2 separate regions of the Homo sapiens genome follow, and region 2 is linked to region 1. Evidence: promoter capture Hi-C in human tissues and cell types (Jung and others, 2019). All regions are on one chromosome and are shown on one strand. The core of a region is centred on a gene start or on the middle of the fragment in contact, and the rest is flanking DNA. Distances in the headings are between cores, read along the strand shown.

What was found. The method cuts DNA at HindIII sites, captures the fragments that hold promoters and counts their contacts. A contact is called where the count stands out against the background at its distance.
Region 2: a fragment that was not itself captured here is called in contact with the fragment with the promoter of PSMA5 in region 1 in 1 of the 25 tissues and cell types used here (bladder).

Annotation. Positions count from the first base shown.
Region 1 is chr1:109,422,216-109,429,432 of GRCh38, forward strand. It overlaps PSMA5 (proteasome 20S subunit alpha 5), which reads right to left and starts at 4,233. Exons shown (of 9, transcript NM_002790.4): 1 at 4,087-4,233. The coding sequence starts at 4,115. RefSeq lists enhancers at 4,296-5,227, 4,734-4,793. The HindIII fragment of the contact is 7,725 bases long and covers 1-7,217 here.
Region 2 is chr1:109,976,187-109,983,259 of GRCh38, forward strand. No RefSeq gene overlaps it. Among named protein-coding and RNA genes, the nearest start is that of AHCYL1, 5.0 kb to the right of the region's middle. The HindIII fragment of the contact is 4,452 bases long and covers 1-3,650 here.

The DNA of each region.
Region 1 (7,217 bases), core at 2,983-5,482:
CTGAATAGACTTACCAGTTCCTTTGGTAAGTTCATGCCTCAAAACTATCAGCCAATTTCCAAGAAAATGTGCATTTTTCCTTATCCTCTTCCCATAACATGCATATGACGTTAATACTTGGGGTTATCACTCTTCTTTCCATTCTCAATGCCCTCATTACCTTTCACCTAACGTTTGTAATAGTCTCCTAACAGGTATTGACTCGTGGAGCAAGTAGGAAGAGTTTTCCCCCTAATTCAGACAATCTCTATAAAACACAGTTATTACTTTTTTTTTTTTTTTTTTGAGACAGAGTCTCGCTCTGTCGCTCAGGCGGGTGCGATCTCAGCTCACTGTAACCTCCGCCTCCTGGGTTCAAGCAGTTATCCTGCCTCAGCCTCCCCAGCAGCTAAGACTACAGGTGCATGCCACCACGCCCGGCTAATTTTTGTATTTTTAGTAGAGATGGGGTTTCACCATATTGGCCAGGCTGGTCTTGAACTCCTGACCTCGTGATCCACCCGCCTCGGCCTCCCAAAATGCTGGGATTACAGGCATGAACCACTGTGCCTGGGCCTAATTATTACTTTTTACTAAAAGTTAGTCACAGGTACATTTCTCTACTTATTTGTATGAATTACTATTGTTATCTTAACAGACTGAGATCCATGTAGTTCCTAATTCTAACCTAGTTCATTCACTCAATATTTATATAACTTACATGTCAGACTGCTTTCCTCTCTAAACACTTCCCCTTAACACTTAACACTTTCCACCTTTCCTTGCTCAAGTGTGCTGGAAATCCCTACGGAGAAGAGGCACCAATCATGGTCTCAGCTATAAAAGCTTTGAGCACACAATGGACACAAAAAATATGTGAACAAATGAATGAGATGGTTGCAATCCGTGGTTTATGGAGTCCAGACTTTACAACAGGTAACATGTCATATAGTAGTGCTTTTGGCCTGGCGTGGTGGCTCACGCCTGTAATCCCAGCACGTTGGGAGGATGAGGCAGGCGGATCACCTGAGGTCAGGAGTTCGAGACCAGGCTGGCCAACAAGGTGAAACCCCGTCTCTACTAAAAACACATAAATTAGCTGGGCGTGGTGGCAGGTGCCTGTAATCCCAGCTACTTGAGAGGCTAAGGCATGAGAATCACTTGAACCCAGGAGGCGGAGGTTGCAGTGAGCCGAGATGGTGCCACTACACTCCAGCCTGGGAGAGTGCTAAGCACAAGTTACTTCCAAATCTCTACTACCAGTTTCACCTCTTTCCTAACTAATTTAAATGTTTGCTGAACATTTCCACTTGCATATCCTATTAGCACTTAACACTTAACGTTTTCCAGTTTGAAATATTATCTCTTTAAATCCAGCCACCTTGCAAAATTGACTTCATCTCCTGCCATTCCAATTTCAGTTTTAATTTAAAACATCTCAAATCTTCCAGTGTTCCCAACATACGAAGTTCTAAATGATCTGACTCATTCCTCCCCATCTTTTCCCATATCCAACTATATGCTAAGTCATACCAATTCATATCAATTCCTCCTCCACAGTAACACATCACTCTTCCTTCTCAATGCCCTCATTACCTTTCACCTAACTATTGTTAATAGCCTAACACTAACAGGTATTGACTCACTTTCCCCTAATTCAGACAATTAATCTCTGTAAAACACAATTATTATTTAACAGCACACAGTTGCCTACAGAAATAGGACCCAAACTCCTTAGCCTCGTATTAAAAACCATTCAATATCTAGCAGCATCCTGTTTTTCCCATTATCTCCTGCTGTTCCCATACACGTATCATATGTGCCAGTCAGACTGGACTTTTCCCAAAATGTATTGTGCTTTTCCATTGCCCCTCCTTCATTTATCCCATATTCTCCAACCCACAACTATTGATCTCACTGTCTTTATTAAATTCCTACTCTTTCAAGAAACCTAGTTTAAATGTCAGCTCCTTTGTGAAGTTTTCCATGATCGTCTCATATTGAATGCAATCCCTCATCAAAACTTCCATGGTATTGATTTGAATTTCTCTAATGGCATTAATATATTTCTGACTCACACTATAGTTACTTCTGTAAACAATTCTTTTTTTTTTTTGGAGACAAGGTCAGCGCCACCACACCCGGCTGATATTTTTTAATGTTTAGTAGAGATGAGGTCTCACTATGTTGCCCAGGCTGGTCTCCAACTCCTGAGCTCAGGCAATCCTGCCTCGGCCTTCCAAAGTGCTGGAATTACAGGCATGAGCCACTGTACCTGTAAACAATTCTTTAAGAGTCTCAGGCCGAGCGAGGTGGCTCTCGCCTGTAATCCCAGCACTTTGGGAGGCCAAGGCAGGTGGACCACGAGGTCAGGAGTTCAAGACCAGCCTGGCCAAGATGAGGAAACCCTGTCTCTACTAAAAACACAAAAATTAGCCGGGCGTGGTGGCACCGCCTGTAATCCCAGCTACTCAGGACGCTGAGTCAGAGAATTGCTTAAACCCAGGCGGCAGGCCAGGCGCGGTGGCTCACTCCTGTAATCCCAGCACTTTGGGAGGCCAAGGCAGGTGGATCACGAGGTCAAAAGATCGAGACCATCCTGGCCAACATGGTGAAACCCTGTCTCTACTAAAAATACAAAAATTAGCTGGGAGTGGTGGCGCGCGCCTGTAGTCCCAGCTACTCGGGAGGCTGAGGCAGGAGAATCGCTTGAACCCAGGAGGCGGAGGTTGCAGTGAGCCGAGATCATGCCACTGCACTGCAGCCTGGCGACAGAGCGAGACTCCGTCTCAAAAACAAACAAAACCCAGGAGGGGGAGGTTGCAGTGAGCCAAGATCACGTCACTGCACTCCAGCCTGGGCCACAGAGCGAGACTGTCTCAAAAGAGTCTCCTATATGCGAGCAAGGAGCTTGATTTTGTCCATTGCTGTAGCACCAGCACCTAGAACAGTGCCTTGTTCACAGCAAGCACTCAAGCACATTAACTAAGAGAATAAAAAGGGATGTATTTTAGGCCGTCTTGGGAAGACAGAAAAATAAGTAACAAAGCAGTCAATACATATGTTAAGTAAATGGCCACAAAATTTAATAAATGCCTTCTGATAAGCATAACAATTTCTATCATACACACCCTAACTCAAAATTATGTCACCCGAAGATGATTCTCTTCAATGTTCTGGAAGTTAAATATCGACCAACAAAGTCACTTTATAGGACAGTGGGGAAATATGTCAAAACTTCACACACATCTTCTACGAGTCAGTAAAAAAGATGAAAAAGTGGTAACTGCAGGTGGTAAAACTTCGACAGGATCAGCATATACTTGACAGGAAATGCAGCATCTCATACCACTCAGTACAAAGAAAATGTCTGCCTTCCCTGACTTTAAAAAAGAGTAGCTATGTAAAAACTTAACTGACGAAAACAGAAACTGAAAGTAAAAATGTCTACAGCATATATATGTACAACTTAATATTGTGAACATTTTCATACCACAAAAGTTTTTTAAAACTTGCTTTAAACTTTTAAAAAGTCAGAAAAAATTTTGGTCAATTGGAATCGGCATGATGAGAAATCTCTTGAAAACCATTCTAAATTCCAGTTCCTATAAAATCAGACTCCAGACAATATATCCAGCCAAAGCTACGACTGCCTTCGCGCTTCTGAAGAAACTATACACCGCAGCATGCCCTACTACAAACCAGTTGCTTTTTCTTCCAGGAAGCACGTTTAACTTTTTGTTTGTTTGTTCAAGGCAGTCATACTAGGCACGAAAAGATGAACGGAGCAAAGAGTGACCCTTGGCCTTCTCCGGGTTCAAGGTAGGAGTTCCGGCTCCTCACGCCTTCTTTACCAAGCACCAGCCGGAGCTTCTCGCTTCCGCACCGAGTTAGGACCCAGGGGTGACTCAGCGGTAGGACAAGTGCCGCCGATGTGGTCTAGCTTGGGGAAGGACGGCGGGCGCCTGAGGAGGGCATAACATCCCCAGGTCCGGCCAGTCTCGGGTTCCTGGGGAGCCCCATGACACGGCAGAACCCAGGCCGCGCGGCCAGGTCCCGGGCCTGCCCACCCATAATTCCCACCCGACGTCCCCCAGCTGCACGGACCTGTCGTACTCAGACCGGGTAAGAAACATGGCGAGGGTAGGAGGAGGCAGCGGCTACGCGGGGATTCTGAGGACCAACACGACTCCACCGGCACCCAACTCACCGGCAGCCAACTCACCCACACGGCCGCAGTACTAAGGACCAACTGCGCGTGCGACCGCGACCTCTTTAGCCCGCCCTCCTGTGCCTGCTTCCTATTGGCTGGTAGTAGTTCCCGCCTAGGTGATTGGGCCAACGCGCTTCCTCACGAGGGCTTGGTTGGTCCGGAGGAGGAGGAGGACCAGGGAGGTACTTCCGCCTTAAATCGCGGGTGGTTGCTAGGGACGATAGGCACCCAAGGCGTGTAGTGAGTTCGCCTTGTAGAGAAGATGTGAGCCCGCCCCAAGACTGGCAATTGGAAAGGCTTGCATGCAGAGCTGGGTTGTCTGAACCCTGACATAATAGGTCCCTCGCCGGCTCCCGTAATCCCAGCTAGAGGACTTTGGTCCCGTTTCCGGCAAGGCCACCACCTGACTTCTCTTCGCAGGATTCCCTCTCTTAGGGTTCCTCCACGGTGTTCTCCATGCCCGGTCGAGGGCTCCAGGACTTTGGGCGGTAATGAGTCGGCTACAGTGGGTCTGAGCCGGCGCCGCGGACGAGTCCCTTCGTTTCAGCCAGTTTGGCTCGTTTATTGAGAAAAGTGGGGGGCGAGGGGTTAGTATGTAAGAAAGTCTTAAAGTTTCCACATGGTTAAGGTAATTTTATCAACTCTTTCTTGCACCCCTCCCCCTAGTACAGGTTTCAGACCTAAATAACCTAGAGTTCAGGATCCAGACTTCAAAATATTCACTGCTTTTTCTGTTGTTTGTGAAAAATAAGTGTTTTCTTTGAGCCCAGATCGTGCTATTGCACTCCAGCCTGGGCAACAGCCAAACCCTATCCGAAAAAAAAAAAAAAAAAAAAAGCGCTTTCTTTTTCGACGCTTCTTGCTTCCCTTCAATAAGTTGCTTGAGGAGCAACTTTGCAGCTTCGTAATAACACTGTAATTCAAGTATTTGTTCAAGAAAGGCAAGTAAGAAGTCTTGGCACGGGGGTGGGGAATATAGGGAAATGTTGGTCAAATGATACAAAGTTTCAGTCAGAGAAGGTGGATGAGTTCTATAGTTAATAATCATATATTGTGTACTTGAAATTGTGAAGAGGGTACACCTTAAATGTTCTCACCACAGGAAAGTATGTGAGATGATGGATTATGTTGATTAGCTTCATTTAATTATTTGCAGTGTGTGTGTGTATATATATGTATATCAAAACGTCACGTTGTATACCATAAACATGAACAATTTCTATTTGTCACTTACACCTTAAAGCTGGAGTCGGGGGAAAGAAATCATTTATCAGGCAGTATATGCTGGAAAGGGAAATGCCAGCATCTCATTTCCAGTTGTTAATGTGATACCACTAGTCAAGTCCTTAACCTCTCAAGGCCTGTATCTCTCCAGTAAAGTTCATTCTTGGTCCTAGATTAGGTTTGTAAGTCACCAAGGCATTTCAAAGGTGCAGGAAATGTAAAAATAAGCCTTTTGAGTATTAACCAAGATTAGTTTTCCCCACCCTTTATTTTCTGACTTCCTTCATGGATTCAGTAGGAGTTTAGTTTGGTCATCCCTGGCCAATCAGATGTTTAGCACTAATAAAACTGAGGAAGAACTCCAAGTAGCAATCCTCTGGGATCTGTTAGATTTCTGAGAAAAGAATGGTAATTTTTAGCTTTCTTGTCAGCTTTCTGACAAGCTTTTTTTTTTTTTCACCTTATCAGTTATTTTCTATGGAAAAGTCTTGGTCGTAAATTCACTACAGCTGCTCTTTAGAAGTTCTTTTATGGCCAGGCACAGGGGCTCACGCCTGTAATCCCAGTACTTTGGGAGGCCGAGGTGGGTGGATCACGAGGTCAGGAGTTCAAGACCAGCCTGGCCAAGATGGTGAAACCCTGTCTCTACTAAAAATACAAAAATTAGCTGGGCGTGATGTTGGGTGCCTGTGATCCCAGCTACTCGGAAGGCTGAGGCAGAGAGTTGCTTGAACCTGGGAGGCAGAGGTTGCGGTGAGCCAAGATCTCACCACTGCACTCCAGCCTGAGCAACAGAGTGAGACTCCATCTCAAAAAAAAACCAAAAAAAACGGAGTTATTTTACTACGTAGGTACTTTAGCATAATATTTCCTGAGCACCCAGGGTTCCATGGTGCTCTGCAGACCCTATCAATGTCAGAGACAGTAGTGAATTGCTTACGAAATGTTCTTGAATGTAGAATCTCCTCTGGGTAAATGTGTTTGTGCTATATATAACATAAATGAAGGGGAGCTGCAGGTAATTGTGGATAGGAAGGAAAATCTTTTCTCCCAAGAGAGTGCATTGTAACAATCTAGCAGCTAGCATAATGTGTCTTTGAAAGAAATAAAATGAGAAATTAGCTATTTAAAAGTAATTGAAGTTAAAATGTGTGTACGTACAAAGGAATATTGTTCACCCTTTAAAAAGGAATGAAATTCTGATACATGCTACAACTTGGATTAGACTTGAAGACCTTATGCTAGGCGAAATCTCAAGACACAGAAAGACAAATATTGTATGATTCTACTTATGTTCGGTACCTAGAATAGTCAAATTCATAGAAACAGAAAGTAGAATAGTGATTATCTAGGGCTGGAGGAAAAGGGGAATGAGGAGTTAATGGGTTTAATGGGTACACCATTTCAGTTTGGGATGATAATGAAGTTCTGGAGATGGATTGTAGTGATGGTTGCACAACAGTGTGAATGTATTTAATGTCACTGAATTGTACACTTAAAAATGGTTAAAATGGTAAGTTTTATGTTAGGATATTTTACCACAACAGAAATAATTTTTTAAGTTAAAGGGGGGAAAAAGGAAAATAATGGAAATGTGAGTTCTTTGAGGGTCAGTACTCTCTTGTTCAGCCTAGCACCTGGCATATGCTCTAGATACATTTGTTTAGTAAATAAGTATTTATTTTTTTAACTTTTATTTTAAGTCCAGGGTGTATGTGCAGGATGTGCAGGTTTGTTATATAGGTAAACGTGTGCCATGGGGATCTGCTGTACACACCATTTCGTCACCCAGGTATCAAGC
Region 2 (7,073 bases), core at 175-2,674, 550 kb after region 1:
TGAGGTAGAGCTGGGGGTGAGGGGGCTTGAAGAAAGCCCACTAAGTAGCTTGCTGCTGGGAGAGACCACTGTGAGTGGGCAGCTCCCCAGCCTGCCTGGAGAAGCAGTACCCACAGACAGGGAGGACCTGCCTACAGTCTGAGGGGCAGCCATTAGCAGTGGCGAGCTCCACTGAATCCCAACCAGCTGCTCCAGTCCTGCAAGAACGAACTCTTTGTTTATTTGGGGGTTTTTGTTTTGTTTTATTTTTTGTAAAATCCAATGAGCCAAGAGAGGAAGCCCTAAAAATGATATTAGACTTTTCACCCACTGTGGATGGGATTTGGGACCAGATTTAAATAAATGTGGGAAAATAAAAAATACTGGCATGTCTTTCCCATCAAGTGTCGTGAAGCTATTCCTTCCTCATTAATACGCAAATATGCAACACCATGAGGAGCATTCATGTGTTCATCCATGATCACTGGTTGTTCATTTCATACTTCTCCTTGGACCCCTAAGGGATGGCAGAGTCTGTTGAGTCAGCCAACTCCACGGACGAAGCCTCCTGGATTAAGGGACCTGAACTGAGCCAAAACAGATAAGGGTGGGAGAACCTGGGTCCAGTCCTCGCTGTGTCACGAATGTGCTTTAGAGTCTGAGCAAGTTTCTCACCTTTCTGTTCCTAAATAGAGGATTAACAAATAGGCTGCTCTGTAAAGCTCTGGGAATCTGTGGGTCATTGGCACTTGGGAGCCCTCAGCCTGTAGGGAATCTAGACAGACTCACACATCCACAGAAACCGCAAGCAGCTCCACATTCTCCCATGTGCTCCAGTCAAACCAGATTGCTGGCCATGTTCCAGAGCATACCCTACATTTCACACCTCCATATTCTTGCTCTTGCTGTTCCCTCCATCTAAAGTCAGTGTTCCTCATGTCCGCCTCTTGAAATCCTAGTCATCCTTTAAGATTCAACAAAACCAACTCTCCTTCACAAGCCTGCCCCATTCCCTCTACGGGGAGCGTCTTTCTTTCTTCTTCCACGGGCATCTTCCGCCTCTGACTGCAGTCATCTGGACACATTTTGCAAGCTCCCTGAAGGCAAGGGCTGGGCCTCATTCATCTCTGCATCCGCCACGGGACCCAGCTCAGGATCCTGCAAGCTATGGAGCAGCCAAATGTTTGTGGAACTAAAATTGGGACCTGGGCCTAGGCTTGGATGAAGTTTCGGGCTATTTCAGGCCCTGGAATGGGTGGGGCGATGAAGGGAATGTTGGGGTTGGGAGATAAAAGACCCGAGCGGGAATGAGGCTTGGGCTTCACTGACTGGAACAGCCTCTCCATCCCCACCCCTTGATGTCTCCTCATCTAGCCCGAACAGAAACAGGGAAACACTGTGTACTTGCGACTCTCTTCCATCAGTCTCTTGAGCCCTTCCAGGCCCTCACATCACCCACTCCTTCCCTGAACCCCTATAAAGAGGTCAAAGGGCCAAGCGGGTCTGCAGGAAATGGCTGAAGGGCCTTTGTGGAGAGGCCAAGGTCCAAGCTCCTGGTTCTGGCATGAGATCCATCGTTGCCGTTGGTCTAAAATATTGTGTTGACCCTCCGTCAGGACTCTGTGGAAGTGTGGAAGTGGCATGAGCTCATGTTGGAGGCTGAAGAGCTCTGTCCTCACTGCTGCAGAATGGGACAAATGCTGAGGGTGTGGAGGACAAGGCTTAACTCTTTCCCCGGGGAAGAGGCCAGGCTTGCGTTGTGCATGTGGAGCCTTCAACCCTTAAAAGGCTGTCCAGGCAGAGCTCCTGGAATCGTGGAGGAGAAGGGAGGTTTTCAAGACCAGGGTTGAGAGGCATGAGGAGCAGCCTTGGGAATCCAGGTTGGTTGCAGGGAGGGCTTGAGAGGGTGAAATGGTTAATGGTTTGTTGAAAAACAGGGAGAGTCCCTCCTCCAGGGGCCCAGCTGGCTGCAAAGCCAGGAGCAGAGACTCCAAGGGTGATGCAATGGGGCCCGCCCTGCACACCAGAGAGGGTGAGGAAGGCAGGCTCCCACCCCGCAGCAGCCTCCGCACCACCAGCAGCCGACCACTCTCCTCTGGCTCCAGCAAACCAGCCACAGGCCGGGCCCTTCAGGGCAAAGGGGCAAGACCCTGAGCACCTGAGCTTTGGGAGATGGCAGCTTCTGTCTGTTCCACTCCATCAGCCCCAGAGCCTTTCCAGTCAAGACAAATCCTCTACTAGCCCCCAGCAGGCATCCTGAAGGAGTACCCACCAGGATATCAAACCATCCTGGCCACCTGTGTCTCTGCGATTCCAGGACTATTTCCAGTCCTAGAGGCAGGTTGCAGGTTATGGGTAGAGAGGCAGGCCTGGGAGAGGCAAAGACAGGCAGTGTCCTCCCTTATCCCAGAAGCTGACACTTACATCTCACCAGCCCACTCACCATTGCCCTGGGGGAGCACATCTGCCAGGGAAGCAGTATCCCAGAAGCTTCTAAAAGACTTGGGGCTACTTCAAGGGTGGGTCAGCATCTCTGAACTCGGGAGAGAGACTGCTCTTCCTTCCCTAGCATGGGGCTAGACACAGCCTCAGAAGCAGGGAGAGGAAGCATGCCACACACTCTGGAAGACCGCTCAGGGTGGGGCACATGGAGACAGCAAGGAGAGGGTGTGCCCTCTCAGACAGTACTGGGAACCTTGATTTTCTGACAAAGCTCTGCTATGGACTCTAAGCCCCATGAGGACAGGAACTGTGTCTGTCTTGTTTACTGTGGGATCCCTGGCGCTCAGCACAGCTCCCGAGACAAAGCTGATGCTCAGTAAATAACTGACTGGGCAGAGGCCAAAGTCCAAGGCCAGTTTCACAATTTCTACTTTTTTGGTAAACTCTTCACCATCCCCACCTCCATCCTCCCCGCTCCCATATACACACTTAAGAGCAGGAAAAAACATACAAAGTAGCACAAACAGTCATCAGAACAGATTTCTTGAACATTGTTTACAATTGGTGGATGCCTTCTCAGTATGAACTTTAATGTGTGGCAGCTTTGGGAACTGAAGTAAGATACATCAGGATCTCTGGTCCAACCTAGAAAAAAAGCATGTGAGGAAGTTCCAAGGGGCTGCTGGTCACACAGCCAGACCCCGGGGCCAGGTTGGGCCAGGAAAGCAGCAATTTCTCATGGCTGGGGCAGTGTCAGCCCTCCCTTTTGAGGAAACACATCCACATGTCAACAAGTACTCAAAACCAGCAATGACAATCCTTTCCTGCAGCAGACGGGTTTCTGCTTATTCCTGTCATTCCGGGAAGCGGAGCGAAGAGAGAATTCCAAATTCTCAACAATAGCTCCTTTGCCCTCCATGGTTAGCCTGGACCCACATCTTAGTACCTTACATTTGCACAATATTTGCAACTTGTTCAAAGCTTTTGCATATTTATGATCTTACTGGATTAGGTCATTACAAGCCCCAGATGGAGAGCTATCAACCTGTCTTGCATGAGGAAGAGGAGGTCAAAAAAGGTCCAGGATGCCAGTGGCCAAGTTAGTAGCAGAGTGAAGATTTGAGCCCACATCTCTGCCCAGTTTTCCTGCTTCCTCACACCATGCAGCCTCGCCATGAGTCAGCTATCACGAGTTCCAGACACAGGACCTCAGATCCTCTAGGGCCAAAAGGTGCCTCCTTATCCTGGTCCTTGTTTACAGTCATTATAACTGCCCCCACTACTTACATTTTTGCTCCCTTTCTCTGGCAGGAGCTGGTGCTGTGACCCATCTTCGCCTGTTTTGCTTGAAAGCCATCCCCACACCCACTCCGAAACCACCTCCCTCCATTCCATTATATTGCACTAGTTGGAAACAATTCAAATACCGAACAATAGGAAAACAGTTAAGCAAACTCATAAAGCAATATGACAGAAAGCTTGGAAAACATGGACAATAATAACAAGTATGTCAATGCTCTCCGTTCGGGTCATGTGTTTTTGAAATATTGTAATTTGATCAAAGCAGAATACAAAAGGACATGAACCTACCAATCACAGGTATGTAAAAATGAGTTTCTGCAAATTGCTAAGAACTAGGAGTGAACTTAACAAGATGAAAAGAAATTTTTAAAAAATCTTCATGGATTTTTCTTTCCTATAATGTTCAAAATGATAATAAAGAGTAAGTGATCCTAATAAATATGACAATAATAAGCAGAGGGGGAGACAGAGAAGGAGGAATGTTTTCCCACTGGAACTGGAGAAGGGGAAGGAGAAAAGGCTGAGGGTAGGGAGGGAGGGAGCTCGGTGGGAAGTAGGAGCCAGGAAGCCTGAGGACCAGCACCCACAGCCACAGAGGTGCAACCGGGAGCCCACCCTCTGGGGGTCCCTAAGGGCCAGCGAGGTAGGTGACCAATCTGAAGTGGTGCTCCAGGGCACCTTTCACAATAATTACAATGTCAGTGGTGCCTCCTAGAGCTGTGCAAGGTAGCAGTTCTGGGACAGAAAGAAGCCTGGAGCTGGAGGGTTTGCCCATGCTGGAGAGCTAGAGACAGAGCCACTGCCCTCTTCACCTTCTTCCGAACTTCCATTGTCACCCAAGATCTCTGCAGTTTTTCTGCACTTTCATTCCAGAGGGCTAACATAACACCTGGCCGACAGGAGGTGAAAGGCCTTCAGGAGGAGCACAGCCTCCCCCTGGTGGGGAGCCTGACTGGCAGGGAGCGGGCAGTTCCAAAAGGTGCCAACCTGGGCTCCCCTGAGACTCAGGGACAGTGCCCTCCACAGACATATCAAACTCAACATGTCCCAAGCTGACTCCTCTCAGCAGCCCCCCTCCACCCCTCTAGCCACACTTGCTTCTCCTCCTGTGCTCCCCAGCATGGCAGACATCACCACCACCCACCCAGGGCTTAACACGCCCTGCAGGATCTGGCCCTGGCTTCAGCGCTCACTTCACCCTGCTTTGCACCCTGTGCCCCACCCACATGGGGATATTTACAGTTCCCGTAATATGCCAAGCTGTTTCCATCACCATGCCTATTCTCAGGCTGTTTCTTCAGCCTGGAGAATCTTCCCTCCCTTGCCCAGCTGCTTATCTGTCAAGACTCAGCTCTGGCAGCATCTCCCTCTGTGTCATCCCTTTGCCCTCCACTGCACCCCACCCCCATCACCTGTCCCCACGTAGAGATCAGCACCTCAGCTTATTTATCTCTGTAGTCCCGACTGACATCTAGCCCTGCTGCTGGCACTTCTTCGGCACTCAATATATATTTTATAAATAAAAGAACAAATGACTGAATGTAGAACATCAATTTGGGGGTGGACAAACAGTGAATCTGATTAACAAGACCAAGCCCACGTGTGGTAGCCCAATGCCACTACATTTCTGGTGACAGCATCTCCCAATTCACCACTGCCCTTAGGCCACTCCTTTCTAGCAAGGGTCTTCGCTCCAGGCCCTTGGAGACTTCCCACCACCACACACAGCAGGTGCATCTGTCTTTGGGTCCCTGTTCTTCTCCAATTGCCCCGTGGGGGGTCTCTCACCTGTGTGTGGATGCGCTGTTCAGGGCAGTGAGCTTGCCAGTAGAGGTGCTGAGTCAGGTGGGTGGGTAGGCTGAAGACAAGTCATCTCTTGGCATTCATGAGAAGCAATCGCCTTAGCTGTGCCATGTGAGGCTATCTTAGGATGGGTTTTGGGGGTGGGAGACAGGATGCAATGATTCTCACGGATGTTATGTTGTCACACTCCCTGGCTGGGTGAGCTCTTTGCTCTCCAGCACACACGTGATGGAAGGGATGGCAGCCACCCATGCCCCCTGCAGTGGCTGGTTTCCAAGAATGTCCCGGGCCCCTGGCCTCACTTGAACCACATAGGCCTAATGCTTTCCACCAGGGTAGGGGGTGCTGCCCTTCCCCTTTCCAGTCTGAGTCCCCGAACTCTCCTACATCAGCTCATCAACCTCCCCTCAGGCCAGCCACTCAGGTGAGTGGAGTCTGACCTGCTGATCTCCTTCTTAGCCCAGACTGCTAAGGTACTGCATGCTCTAGGCCTGGCCCTGTCTGTCATCCTCTGTAGCAGCAGCAATAGCAGACAACACTGTGAGCCTGGTGCTAGGGCAGACCTGGTCCAGGAGGAGTAAAGACTGAACTTCAATCTCCAGGAAGCTCACAGTCTGGATGCTTAAATGCACAGCAGAACTGGGGGACTGAGAGACAACATGTTTAGACAAAGTGAGTTCTAAAAATCAAATCCAAAAGACAGATACACTGATGCTTCTCTTTAAAAAAAAAAAAAAAAAAAAAAAAAAGATCTTCTTAAGTCACACATTTTTCTACTATAGGGACTTGAGATTTCATCCCTGGTTCCAATGGGTTCTGCCTCGAGTCTTTGGGCAGGCATCTCTGATCCCTGGGCTCTGCCAACAGTTTGGGCAAACCCACAAGGATGAAAGCCACTGTGAGCCTTATGTTCAGAGAGTCCTTAGTGCACCAGGTGTGGTTCCTGACCCCTAGCTGAAAGATGTCAGTCTGGCACCCTCATGGATGAACCTGGTATTCTGGTCTCCATCTCTGTTCCCGTTCTGCTACAGTGATGCCCCTGACAGGGAAGTGTGAGTGCTCAAAAAAGTGAGCAGATGAAAGAATACAAACAGTTCAAGACCAAGGTCTGCAGATGTGCAAAGGGTGCATTCTTCCAGGCACTTCTACAGCCCTTTTCAAACAGACAGTCTCATGAGGCTAGGTGGCTGGAACACAGGATTCCCTGACTAAGACTTTTAGGGCCCTAGAGGTGAATATTTCACACTCTCCCCAGCCCTGAACACAAATCAGTGGGGAAAATGCCATTTCAAACCAAAACTTCCTTCTTGAAAGGGTATGCCCTGTTAAAAACCTGGGAGGTTTCTGGATGTTAAAAGGTGGTCCTGGCCAGGCGCGGTGGCTCACGCCTGTAATCCCAGCACTTTGGGAGGCCGAGGCAGGTGGATCACGAGGTCAGGATCCGAGACCAGCCTGGCCAAGATGGTGAAACCCCGTCTCTACTAAAAATACAAAAATTAGCCGGGCACGGTGGCGCACGCCTATAGTCCCAGCTACTCACTCAGGAG